Linked DNA regions of Homo sapiens: regions 2 and 3 are each linked to region 1. Evidence: promoter capture Hi-C in 16 types of primary human blood cells and fetal thymus (Javierre and others, 2016). All regions are on one chromosome and are shown on one strand. Each heading gives the region's core, a stretch centred on a gene start or on the middle of the fragment in contact. The rest is flanking DNA. Distances are from core to core; before and after follow the strand shown. Region 1 holds the start of CFAP20DC (CFAP20 domain containing). Region 2 overlaps FAM3D-AS1 (FAM3D antisense RNA 1). Region 3 overlaps LOC105377109 (a long non-coding RNA gene).

Region 1 (4,470 bases), core at 1,182-3,681:
AGAAGGTTTGTTCCTTATCTGCTCTTCTTATCCTTGATAAGGAGCAGGTCCAAATATCATTTATTTTCGCGTCCCTTACATAATCCATAATAGTTGGCATATGATACGACAATAAATGTTTGAGGTTTTTGGGTGAAGTGGAATGATTCCAGGCTTTAGACTCAAACATAAATGAAACTCAATATTGCATCCTTGAGTAAATTCCTAATCGACTCTGAATCTCAATCTTCTCAAATGAAAGGAGACTAACCCTTACCTCACAGAATCGTGAACCTGTGAGCCACTCTGCCTATAGCAGGAATTTTATGAGTGGTACCTGATTAGCATTAACCTATGCCATTGACCTAACTCAACCATGAGTGCAGCATCAGATAAGAGTTCCTAACTGGTGCTGTGTCCGGAATCGGTGGGTTCTTGGTCTCACTGACTTCACGAATGAAGCCGCGGACCCTCGCGGTGAGTGTTACAGCTCTTAAGGTGGCGCGTCTGGAGTTTGTTCCTTCTGATGTTCGGATGTGTTCGGAGTTTCTTCCTTCTGGTGGGTTCGTGGTCTCACCGGCTCAGGAGTGAAACTGCAGACCTTCGCGGTGAGTGTTACAGCTCTTAAGGCAGCACGTCTGGAGTTGTTTGTTCCTCCTGGTGGGCTCGTGGTCTCGCTGGCTTCAGGAGAGAAGCTGCAGATCTTCGCGGTGAGTGTTACAGCTCATAAAAGCAGTGTGGACCCAAAGAGTGAGCAGTAGCAAGATTTATTGCAAAGAGTGAAAGAACAAAGCTTCCACAGTGTGGAAGTGGACCCCCAGCTAGTTGCCAATGCTGGCTCGGGCAGCCTGCTTTTATTCTCTTATCTGGCCCCACCCACATCCTGCTGATTGGTAGAGCCCAGTGGCCTGTTTTGTCAGGGCGCTGATTGGTGCGTTTACAATCCCTGAGCTAGACACGAAGGTTCTCCACGTCCCCATCAGATTAGCTGGATACAGAGTTTGGACACACAGGTTCTCCAAGGCCCCACCAGAGCAGCTAGACACAGAGTGTCAATTGGTGTACTCACAAACCTTGAGCTAAACACAGGGTGCTGATTGGTTATTTACAATCCCTGAGCTAGACGTAAAGACTCTCCACCTCCCCACCAGACTCAGGAGCCCAGCTGGCTTCACCTAGTGGATCCCGCACTGGGGCCGCAGGTGGAGCTGCCTGCCAGTCCCGCACCGTGCGCTCACACTACTCAGCCGTTGGGTGGTCGATGGGACTGGGCGCCGTGGAGCAGGGGGCGGCGCTCATCGGGGAGGCTCGGGCTGCACAGGAACACACGGAGTGGGTGGGAGGCTCAGGCATGGCGGGCTGCAGGTTCTGAGCCCTGCCCCGCGGGAAGGCAGCTAAGGCCTGGCGAGAAATCGAGCACAGTGCCGGTGGGCCAGCACGCTGGGGGACCCAGTAGACCCTCTGCAGCCACTGGCCCGGGTGCTAAGTCCCTCATTGCCCGGGGCCAGCAGGGCTGGCCGGCTGCTCCGAGTGCGGGGCCTGCCAAGTCCACGCCCACCCGGAACTCCAGCTGGCCTGCAAGCGCGGCACGTAGCCCGGGTTCCCGCTCGCGCCTCTCCCTCCACACCTCCCTGCAAGCTGAGGGAGTGGGCTCCAGCCTTGGCCAACCCAGAAAGGGGCTCCCACAGTGCAGTGGGGGGCTGAAGGGCTCCTCAAATGCCGCCAAAGTGGGAGCCCAGGCAGGGGAGGTGCCGAGAGCAAGCGAGGGCTCTGAGGACTGCCAGCATGCTGTCACCTCTCAGTGCCATATGACTTTGGCCAAGCCATTTAACCTTTCTGAGCCACAGTTCCTTAGCCAAAAATTGGCAATAGTACCTTCCATGTAAGAAGTGGCTCTGATCTAGAAACTAAATAAAGTAACTTAATAGTTACACTTAAGCCAGTGCTAGTCTCAATAAGTTATTATTTTCTACAAAAAAATCTTGGCTTCCTAGGGTCTTCTGAAACAATGAAAGGGTCCAGCAGACCCTCTTACTGCCTCAACGAACCCAAATTTGGGAACCTTCTAAGCAAAGGCCGCGTGAGGGTTCCATGAGTCCATGACTGTATCCCTCAGGAACCTACCAGTTATCTGTTTACCACGAGGAGAGACCAAACCGATGTGACAGTACTCTAGAAGAGTCCAGTACCTGGTATAGCCCTAATCCACGCTGAGTTTAGCCTTTTTAGTCGGCAGAGGTCATGACCTAAGTAAGGAGCGTGCTGCTCACCGTTTGGACCGCCCACCATTTCTCCAGGAGTCCCGCGGTTGCCTGGGCAACGCTACGTCACCGCGTATCCTCCCGTGCCCGTCGGCGAGAAGCCTAGAGAGCGCAACGCGCAGGCGCCCAGTGGGAACCAATGGGCGCGGCCGGAACGCGGGTGGCGCTCGGCGCTGCTCTTTCGCGGTTTGATTCTGGGGTGGGGCGGCAGCGGGAGCGCGCCCGCTTTTCCTAGGCCAGCGGGCGGTTGTCTGTGGCTCCGCGACTGGGCGCCCCGTCACGTAGGTTACACACACAATCACTCCCCAGGGACGGCCCGGAGTCCGTCCAGGCAGCTGCGCCCTCCCCAGACCCGGGCACCGCGGAGGCTGGAGCCGCAATGGTGCTGATGGAGGGCGGGAGATGGAGCTGACCAGGGGCCGGAGGGGCTGAGAAGAGCCTGCCCAAGTCTGGGCCAAGCACGAAGCCCTTTCCCACCCGTCGGGCTCCTGGGTTCCCGCCAGCCGATTTCCAGCCGTCAGGGTCACGCCACTCGCTGGAAACCCTGAACTCTGTGCCCCCCAAGCCCTGGGCCCCCTGCGGGAATGTTCAAAAATGAGTACCAGGTAACCCGAAACGGTTCTCCAACCTGTCTATACCTTTCTCCTCTTGGGTGAGGTAGTCCGTGATCGGGGTGAGGATAAAGTGCACCCTCTATCCCCATAATAAGGTCTTTTTCAGGGGTAAGACAGAATTAATGGGTGAATGCTGTTGACCCAGAGAGAAGGAAAAATTTACCAATGTCTAGGCGTATGATTTGGCTTTTGTTCACTCTCCAACTCAGTGTTTCTTAAGATGAATTAATTGTCTGTGATTCTACCTAAAATGGAGATCTTAAGCCCCACTGAAACCTCCTGAATCAGAATCTTGAGGGCAGGGCCCAGAAATCTTGAGTTTTAACAAAGCGCTTTGGAGACTCAGTATTCATGCAACACTGGTATCTCAGAAGCGATTTAGAAGAGTGAATGAGTGAATGCATGCATTGTTACATCAAGAAAGAAAATAAGCACTTTGGCTATGTGCTGTTTTATTTTTACAGAACTGGGAGTCAGTGAATCTCAGACGTTGGAGTACATCAGGCTTTCTTGGGGTGCTTGTAAACGTGCAGATTTCCTGACCCGCATCCCAGATCTGGTGAATCCGAATCTCTGGATGGGGGTCACTTGATTAAGCTTTTTAACTAGTTCCCCCAAGTGATTCCTATGCAGGGGGTCCAAGGATCACACTTGGAGAAACACTGCTTCTGGGTCGTCCTCAGTCACTTTGAGTATCCTAGAGTGTCTCGACCTGCTTTCCTCACCTCACTGGACACCTCCCTTCCTGGTCTCCTCTCCTCGCCTTTGCAAGAGGTTACACTCCTTGTTTACAGTCTGTTTACCATGCTAGTCCTGCTGTTCTGATGAACGTTTGTTACTGTATCTAATCAGTTCTCTACCCGTCTCCACCTCTTTATTGCTTCTGCCTTTTCATTCACCTAACACTACTTGCCTCATTATGAGTGCTCTCGGAGTAGTCTGCAGTTCTCTTTCTTCTGTCCCATTCGTTATCACTAATTGGGCTAGAACACTTTTAGAGAGTTTGTCTCACTTCTTATAGGTAAAATATATTATCAAAAAAACATGTGCCCACTACAGGAAACTTGGAGGACATGGGAAAGCAAAAAGCAGCAGGGAGAGTTTGCCGTCTCACCGAGTATGAGGGCTTTTGTCTTTTAAAACAACTAGCTGTCTCAAATTTAAATTCATAGTGAAATATTACCTGCCCTCACAAGCTATAGTAATTCTATCCCATATACAGTTTGCACGTAATACTGCCTAAGGAAGAAGACATTAAATGTCTTACCTCCAAGTGATCGTGTGTTATAACTGAGAGGCAAAAATATCTTTATATTACTGAGAAAAATTAAAAGCTGGAAATTCCTTACAGAAATTAGATTTGCTCACATATTGTTTATAATTCAAACCGTATTTAATCCTCATATAGGATTCTCATTTTTTGCAATAAATTCTTCCTTAGAGATAATTATCTTATTTAATTCCCCTTTCTTAAATAATTAAAGCTTATGGACATTCAGTAATATCTTCAGTGTGCTTACATAAGTGTGTCCTTCCATGTTCTCATGTTTACAATGGGGAACCAGTAGGCTGTCTGTAGACACAATATTTTATTTCTCTTATACAGATTTTATAGA
Region 2 (4,470 bases), core at 473-2,972, 420 kb after region 1:
GAAGGTAGGAACCTCTAAGTGTCCTGTTGGGGCCCTGGTCATGGGAAGGGAGACTGGACCTAGCAAGTGGGAGCCCCGACCCACCTACCCTGCAGCTTCAGCCGGCAGTGCCCACCAGCCCTCCCCCTGGAACTCACAGCCAAGACTTGCATCTAGAAAGCAGGCAAGGGCTCAGGGAAGAACCAGTGTCCTATCTCTCCATCTCTAGGACAGACTCGGGGGCAGCCAAATCTCTCTGGCTCCCTGGTCTTAACCACACACATCTCTACTTCCCTGAATAAAAGCTCCCTGGGTACCCCTTCCCCATACCCCAGGAGAGTGTCTGATGCAGGTGGATACAGGGGAAAGATCTTAAAATTATTATTATAAAGTTAGCTAACCAGCTGTTACCAGTTGTAGGGCAATAGGCAAGTTATTTAAGCTTTCTGTACCTTATTTCCTCACCTGTAAAATAGGGCCAATAATAATCACTACCTTGGAAAATCATTGTGAAAATTAAATGAGTGAAAGTGTTTGGAACACTGCCTGGCACTGTGTAGAGGCTTTGCTCCATTATTATTAGAATTCTATTCATGTTATTATCCCTCACCTTCTAAGCCTGAGCTCTCAGCTGGGGGTTTGTAGACAGCATTGCCTGAGAACTGTTTCTGGAAATGTGCTCTGCGGACCCCTGCGTCAGCATCCTGGGGTGGGGAGTAGGAGGGAGCTTGTGAAACAGTCACTTTCTCATGGCCCATCAGACCTCCTGGATCAGCCTCTTAGGGGCAAAGAGGGGCCTGCATTTACTCACCAGCTCTCGGGATTGTCCTACGTGCTCACTGCTCTCCAACCACAACGACCCGGTACTGCCATCCCAGTGGCATAGACAGGCTGCCGTGTCCCAGATCCACCACCCACCTACCGTGGCGATGACCTGAACCCCTCTGGACCTCAGGTTCTTGTTTATAAAGGGGGGCTGGTACCTGCTTCGTGGGAAGTTCAACAAGATGATGCCTGTGAAGTGCTCAGTGTGCTACCCCAAGCCCAGAGGCTCCCCGATAAACATGGGACTCTGATCCTCAGACAACCAGTGATGACCTGTTCCATCAAGGTTGAGAAACTCAAGGAAGAAGTAATTTCTTAGCCAGGGTCATGCAGCTAGTGGGGGAAAGAGCAGGGTACTGCTATTGTTGTTAATTTGGAAAGAGGAGCTTTATTTCTCATAAAGGGTTGCAGCCTGCAGGGTGGCCATTCCGAGAGGCTGGGAAGCATGGCCTCTGGCCAGAATCCAGAAACTGACACTTTGAGGAAGAGGCAAAGGGAGTAGAAATTTATGCTGAGCAGCATGGCCAAATATACATATTCAATAAGCTGTGGGAGGGGTCATGAATATTTATGAAAGGAGAAACATCTACATGCACAGTTGAGCTTCATGCCTCTTACAGGCCCCAGGTACAAAAAAATGTTGGCCTTAGTGTGATCTGAGGGTGGAGTTTTCAGCCCTCTGATGTCAAAGGTGAAGCAGGGAGCACGAAAACCCTCACTGTGCATCCTCTGCAGACTGGCTAGAACCGCTCCATGATTGGTGATCTCTTATCAAGAAAGAATGCTGGTTGGTTTTTGTGTTAAAACCACAAAAGGGAGGGGCAGTTGGTTGAAATCAGCATGGAGTCTTTTGAAAAGGCCTGTTTCTGTTTAGCTCTTAGGGAATTAGGATAACGGAGGTTATCAAGGGATGGCACACTACGGGGCACGTGCGACCTCCCATCCCGTCATGGCCAGAAACCCGGTTTTCAAGATTTCTCTGGGGTCTCCTTGGCCAAGAGGGGGTCCGTTCAGTCACTTGCCAGAGTGGAGGGGTGGGGTTTGTTTAAAGTTTTATTTTTATTTCTCATTTTTATTGGGTAGGATTTTGACCCCATTCTGCTTGACTCCAAACAACCCAGCCCATCCCACCCTTCCTGGTCCATAGCTCTGTCCACAGCATCTTCCTCAGCCCCACCCCAACCTCCCACAGAAGGCTGTTGATCAGGCAGGCACCTGCTGCCCTATGCCAGGGCCTATGTGGAGCTGGAGCCAAGGGTGAGGAGACACAGCCCCTGCCCTTGAGGCCGTCCCTGTCAGTTGCAGAGACTAATAGGCAGGCAAAAAATAGTTGGTAGTATGTGTGAAAGTTGAAGCAGAGGTGACTGGGCACATGACCCCTGGGCCAGGAGTCAAAACACAGCGTTGTTGCTTCTATTCCTCTTAGGCAAGGTCTGGACTTTGCTTTTAGGTGAACTCACCTTTGTCCCCTGGGGAATGTCAGGGGCATAGGCTTTGCCTAGAATCCTAAACCCACACTGGCAGGGGATGGAAGGGATCACGTGGTTGGTTAAGGCCAACCAGAGCCCACCCTTGGAGCCACAGATCTGTCTCCCAATGGCATGGCTGTTACTCAATGGAAGGGAGAGTGCTGGACATTTCATTGTAATGGCCCCCCAGGAGGAGAGACAGCGTTCTCTCCAGCTGTGGGGTGGGCAGAGAGAATGGAAGAACACTGAAAGGGTCGAGGGTGTGACAGATAGACCACTGGGCCAGGAGTCAAAACACAGACATTGTTGTTTCTGTTCTTCTTAGGCAGGGCCTGAACTTCCCTTGGACTTGGCATTTTTTTAAATCTGCCCCTATCAAGGGCACCAAGGTGGGTACCCTGGCCTCTATCAGGGTTTTTGCAAGAAGATATTTTAACACACAGAAGCAATCCCTCTAACACTGTTTGGAACATTCCAGAAACTTCAACATTTGACCCACTGGGCATGCATTGATGCCAGAGAGGTGAGTTCAACCCAGATGTCTGGATGGGAGCCACGTTTTAAGCCCTTGCATTACACAGCAAGGCCACAGGTCCTGCGGCAGCAGTGGGTTCAAGAAAAGCACCTTCCATGGGCCTCAGACACCAGCCAGTTCATAGACACCAACAGAGTGTGGGCACGCCGTCCTCCACCCCAATCAGCAGTGGCCAGTGCCCTCGCCCAGGATAGAGGACACAACCACAAGCTTCCAGAGGCTGCCCTGCACAAGTCCAGCTCCCCAGGCTGTGACCGTAATGCCACCCTTAAAGGGGCTGCTAAATGGAAAATGTTCCTGAGCACAGCTCGCATGCACTGCCGCTTCTGCACCAATTCGCTCATTTAGTCTTCAAACAGCTCTTGGACATGGAGAGTTTTATCACCCAGAAATCCAGAGACGTGGAGAGGTTAAGCAAGAGGCTCAGGGTCACCCAGCTAGTAAGGGTGGAGTTAACATTTGACCCAGGCTGCCCTAAGAGCCTGGCCTCTCAAACAGCAAACCCCACTGCCGGCGCTTCTGAAGGTGGAAACACAACAGTGCTCACATCCCACCTGGAGCCCCTGTCGGGGCATCTCATTTAACCCCTCTGAGCCTCAGTTTCCTCAGCTGTCAAGCAGCATGATGATTTACCTTCCACAGCAGGCTGGGGCGAGGTGCCCAGCACTCAGTGGGTGCTCAGGGAATGGCACGTGGTCCTGTTGCTGCTGCTCTAGAGGCTGCAGGTGGAGCTTCTGCAGGGCAGGAGGCGGCAGCATAGCCCCCTGGAGGTTTGGACACTTGGCTTTCGTTCTGTAAAACATTTCTCCAAACCCAACACCACCCAGGTTTTTTGTGGCCCTGAAAGAGTCCTGTCCTCTGACCCTGTTGTTTACCAAGACACTCATCGCTTTGCATTCACCTTCATTAAGAGAAAGTTGCCTTGACTGAAACAAAAGGGGAAAAAAATAGAAGCACTATGGCTAAATTTGATGAATGGCCTGAAAGGGTGTGTTCATTCTATCAGAGCCCAGAAGGTACACATCTGGCTGGGCCCTGCTGGCTCCCTGAACAATTTTCCCTGCCGATGATGGATGGGCCTGCCTGGTGCTCAGGGCCGCCAAGCCCAGCAGAGGATTCCAGCTCATTGCGCCCAGCTCAGTGACGTGTGAGGACCTCATCAGGAGGCGCTCACAGCATGCCATCCCATCACCCTGACTCTGCCCACCGCCTCAGACGGCTTCTCTGAGGAGAAAGGGGCCTTGCACCTCACTTCTGGGTGCCATTGGGACTCCACAGCTGGGTTCCCAAAGGACTCCTGTGCCCAGAGTGGGAGGCTCAAGGACAAGAGGAGAAATGTGTCAGGAGCTCATGGGGGTGAGGAAAAAATATCCCCCCCAACAAAGGCAGAGCCCCCCTCCTGCCCAGCAGCCTCCCCACTGGGCCCTGGTCTCTGGGATCATTCCAGCCTCTCCACCTTTTCTCACTCCATTTGCCTGCCTGTATTGCCCTCCTGATTTCTATCCACCGCCAACACTTCTCTGCATTCCAGCCGCAGGGCTTGCCCCACCTGCTCTTGTAAGTTTCTGACAGCATGTGAATTGAATTCCAATTGCACTGACAGATATTCCATCCCAAGGTGTGAGGGAAGATGACGGAAAGGAAGAAGGGGAATGTCAATTG
Region 3 (4,470 bases), core at 660-3,159, 380 kb after region 1:
AAGATTCATTGTGGTGTACTTTTAATACACACACACCCAGAAACTAAGCGCCCAGGAGTTGAGGAGGGGAGGTGAAGATGGTGCTTTGCGACATGTGATCATCTGCAGTCATTAAGAAATCACATTTACAAGTTTTTAACGACCCAGGGAGATGCCCCAACTGTAACAACAAGTGAAGAGAGGAGGATACCGAGCTGGATGTTTGGGAAGAGCCACACAACACAACCGGGGAAAGGAAATAGCCCAAGGCACTAACAGCCAGCCCCAAGGGAGACTGTACTTGCCTGATTTGTTTCCTTTACACTTTTGTTTTCTTCCAAAGTTTTCATGATGGGACTGTATTATTTTTATAACTAAATAAGAGAAATAAGCTTTCTGTGGAGTCCTAATTAGGGAAAGGGAGTCAGGCTGTTGGGACCAGGGGAAAGCAAAAGGAGAAAGCAGATGAGCTACAAGTCTGCCTTTCTTCATGGTCCAGGACACAGCCCTCCTGCACAAATAAGTCACCATCTTCCTGCGCCCAGCTGTCACCAGACATCTGCAGGTGAGCTCACTGCAAGCTTGGTGTCGTGGTGCTGCGCACAGCCCTCTTCAGCACACAGCATCTGCACCGTCCTATAAAATCTCCAGCCGGCCTTTGTTTCTTTGCAGTCGGCTTCTGTCATGCAGGCTGCCCTCCTTGCAATGTATTTTTCTACTTTCTCCAATAAACCTGCCTTTCTTTACCTACAACTGTCTTGGTAAACTATTTTACCCCCGCACCACTGGGCCAGAGAGTTGTCAGTTCCCTGCAACACTTTTGTGTTACAATAACTTCCCTAAGTATATATACAGCTTGGCTGGCAGCAGAGGCAGAGTCCAAGTTCATTGGCAATGAAAGGGCTGTTGGTGCTTCCCACCTCCTCCCTGCCACCACGGCTGCCTTTGGCACCAACACCCCAGGGAAAGGATGAATTACCAATTATTGTACTTTCAAGACCTCCTGCCAAGCCGTGTATCTAGACTTGACACTGATACCCACTCTGTCAGTGTTGCCCTCTGAGACAGAAGAGAAGGCATTCTGGTCTCTTTCACCAGGAAATTCTGATTCACAGGTGATATTACACCAGTAAGAAGTAATGATGATAACAGGCAGCATTTACTGAGCATCTACTATGGGCCAGGCCCTTCCAATGTACTCTCTTACTTTATTCTCTTGACCACCCTGTAATAAACGGATTATCCTACTTAATAGAAGAGAAAATGAAGGCTTGGGAAGGGGAAATTACTCATCAAGGTGACCCCACTGGTCACAAACAGAGTTAGGACATACAAGCAGGCCTGTCTCACCCAGGGCCCATGTTCTCCACCTGCCATGGGCTGGTGAGTAGAGCAGGGGGTGGTGGGGCAGGGGGTGGCATGCCCAGGAACCAGCACCAATGCCAGACCCCACTGATTGCTCCCTGAGTGTACTCTGGGGAGAGTGATCCTCGGATACCTGCTCAGGCTACTGCTGCCTCAGCAGGGCTTTTGCTATTGGGAGGAAATAAGCGATGACTTCATGACAGCAATTAACTCCTTCAAGATCTGAAGACGTCAGGGTGGCTGCCCTGTGCCTTCCCTTCCTCCTAGGGCTGGGGTGAGAATGCCTGAGACTCAGAGAGGGGAAAGGAAGGCTCCAGGTCACACAACTTCACAGGGTGCGGTGGGGGTCACAGCTCCCGGCACTCAGACCAGTACTGTCTGTGTTGACTCTGATGCAGAAATGAGCTCAAGCTCAATCACCTGTCCATTGATTCAGTAAGTCTTTGTTGAGCACCTGCTGAGTTCCAGGCACTGTTTTTGTTGTTGTTGTTGTTGTTGTTGTTGTTGTTGTTGTTGTTGTTGTTGTTGTTGTTTGAGACGGAGTCTCGCTCTGTCGCCCAGGCTGGAGTGCAGTGGCGCAATCTCAGCTCACTGCAAGTTCCACCTGCAGGGTTCATGCCATTCTCCTGCCTCAGCCTCCCGAGTAGCTGGGACTACAGGTGCCCACCACCAAGCCCGGCTAATTTTTTGTATTTTTAGTAGAGATGGGGTTTCACTGTATTAGCCAGGATGGTCTCAATCTCCTGACCTCATGATCCGCCCGCCTCAGCCTCCCAAAGTGCTGGGATTACAGGGGTGAATGAGCAGCACCTGCAAGATCCCTGCCCTCTTGGGATTCGCTTTCCAGAAGAGTGAGACAGGTGACAAGTAAACAATAGTCAGGAAATATCATTTCAGGCTGTTAAGTTCGATAACGAAAAGGAAACAAAATTGCACCTGTGATTAGCAGACTCTTGGCCCCCTAATGGGATTAGGTCTGCATCCTGATCCCCAGAGCATGCGAATATATAACATAACTGAGCAAAGGGGAATTAAGGTCTCAAATGGAATTAGAGTTGCCGATCAGCTGACCTTAGGATAGGGAGAGTAACCTGGATTATCCAAGTGGGCCCAGTGTTGTCACCGGGTCCTTAAAAGTGGAAGATGAAAGCATAAAAGAGTTAGAGGGAGATGTAAGGAAGGAAGAATTGTCATGGAGACCCAACATTGCTGGCTTTGAAGATGGAGGAAGGGGCCATGAGCCAAGAAATGCAGGTGGCTTCTAGGCACTAGAAAAGACAAAAAATGTTTCTTCTGGAGTCTCCAGAAAGGAATGCAAGCCTGCCAGCACCGTGATTCCAACCCAGTGAGACCCATATCAAGCTCCTGCCCTCCAGAGTGGTTAGCTTCACAGCTGTGTTATGAAGCTGCTGGTCTGTGTTTGTTTGTTACTGCAGCTCCTCAAAGCACCCCTCCTCAGAGAGGCCTTCCCTGACCACCTGCTGAGGAAAGTTCTCCTGGAATCACTTTCATGGGTTCTTTCACAGAATGTCTCAATTTTAAATGATTTGCTTGTGAAGGAGTTCCGAAGTAACTCCCCAAAATATGCCACTTTGAGACTTTGAACTGAGGTCACTTGGGGAACAGCAACTGCAGGGAGGGGCTTTCCGAGTTTTCCTTTTCTGTCTAAAGACAGATTGTCCAGAGCAAACGCAGTGGCCATGAATCTCCGCCCAGGGAATCTCATCAGCCGGAAGGACTGGCTCGTTTCACAGGAGTCTAAAGGTCCACACTACGTCCAGATAGCCTTTGTCACAGGCTGTCGTCACCTGTCCTGCTGAGGGCCCACTCCTCTTCCCCAGAAATCATTTACTCTCCACTACGGTGCTGACACCCCACCCCTCTCTCCCTTGTGAAGAGGGTATACAAGCTTCTAAATCTTACTGGGTGTGGGGAATTCCTTTTCTTTCCTGGGATGCCCCCATGCATGTGATAAATGTCTGTACCTTTTCTCCTGTTATTCTCCCTGCTGTCAGTTTAATTCCTGACCAGCCAAGGCAGCTAGAAGGGTAGAGAAAGCCATTTTTACTCCCCTACACTTGTGTGCTTATTTATATTGGAAGTGAGGGTCAGGAGGGCCCCCCTGAGGAAGTGACACTGCAGGTCAGGTCTGAACAAGACCCAGGCACCAGTTATGGGCAGAACCGTCCTAGCAGAATAAGGGAGAGCAAGAGGCAAGGAGATGGGACAGAGGACAGGACCAGTCCTAAAGCCAGTCAGAGTGAAGGAAAGCACTGCCTCGCCCTGGGATACATCCTGAGGGGGCCCACGTGCCTACCTGGGGATGGGCAGCTGGAACAGCAGAACTGGGGCCACTCCCGGCACCTCATCACACAGGGTCCGCTCCCTGCTCTTCCCTTGCACCAGCTCCCTGGGCATGCATCTTCATTTCCTGACCAGCTGCTGGACCTCATGCCCCTGAATATTCCTTCCAAGTGGGCCACACAGCCTACGGAAGCATTCAGAGTCAGCAAACAAGGGAGGAAGTTGCCAGGAGCCTGTGTGCCAAGGACCGAGGCAAGAACTCCTCCTAAGAGGAAAGCGCTTGGGAAAGAGACCATGATTTGTGACAAAGACTGGGAGTGCTGGATCAGGGGAGGGGGAAGCTGAGCCCCTCTCAGTGCACCTTGGGTCCTAAGGAGAGAGAAGGGAGACAAAGGCTGCATTCACCATTTCACTAAAAGTCTGCCACTGAGCAGCCCTTCTTTTCTTTCTCCGTCTTTCCCTTTCTCCACACCCCACCCCCTCCACCTTTAACCTCTAATTCAATATGCCCCACCCAAATCCAGAATCTTTTCCCAAACCACTTCCTCTCCCCCATCTTCCTCACTCTTGACCAAGAAGCCTCCCTTTTCCATCATCCAAGCTCAATATCTTGCAGTTGCCTTTGACCTCCTCCATCTTTCCTGTCCTGAGTTTCTTGCCTGGGTTCCCCTCTTTCCAGTCAGCCCCTCCAGCACCCCCCCACACTCTAGTCCAGAACCTCAAAGCAGGTGATCATCAGCTGCAGTTACTCGCTCTACCAGCCCCACACCTCCCAGCGCCTGGGGAGGTTGTTAGCACAGGGTCGGGTTTTTTGTAAGGTTT

The links. The method cuts DNA at HindIII sites, captures the fragments that hold promoters and counts their contacts. A CHiCAGO score of 5 or more calls a contact.
Region 2: a fragment that was not itself captured here is called in contact with the fragment with the promoter of CFAP20DC in region 1 in 4 of 17 cell types (monocytes, M0 macrophages, M1 macrophages and 1 more); the score reaches 6.3 in monocytes.
Region 3: a contact is called between a fragment that was not itself captured here and the fragment with the promoter of CFAP20DC in region 1, in 1 of 17 cell types (endothelial precursors). The highest score is 5.3, in endothelial precursors.

What each region holds. Positions count from the first base shown.
Region 1 is chr3:59,047,986-59,052,455 of GRCh38, reverse strand. It overlaps CFAP20DC (CFAP20 domain containing), which reads left to right and starts at 2,431. Exons shown (of 17, transcript NM_001394063.1): 1 at 2,431-2,845. The coding sequence starts at 2,825. The HindIII fragment of the contact is 2,679 bases long and covers 775-3,453 here.
Region 2 is chr3:58,622,505-58,626,974 of GRCh38, reverse strand. The region is part of intron 2 of FAM3D-AS1 (FAM3D antisense RNA 1); the gene reads right to left. It also overlaps a transcript of FAM107A not described here. Among named protein-coding and RNA genes, the nearest start is that of FAM3D-AS1, 18 kb to the right of the region's middle. The HindIII fragment of the contact is 2,597 bases long and covers 424-3,020 here.
Region 3 is chr3:58,667,100-58,671,569 of GRCh38, reverse strand. LOC105377109 (a long non-coding RNA gene) reads right to left here. Exons shown (of 3, transcript XR_940879.3): 2 at 3,662-4,017. Among named protein-coding and RNA genes, the nearest start is that of FAM3D, 2.6 kb to the right of the region's middle. The HindIII fragment of the contact is 2,693 bases long and covers 563-3,255 here.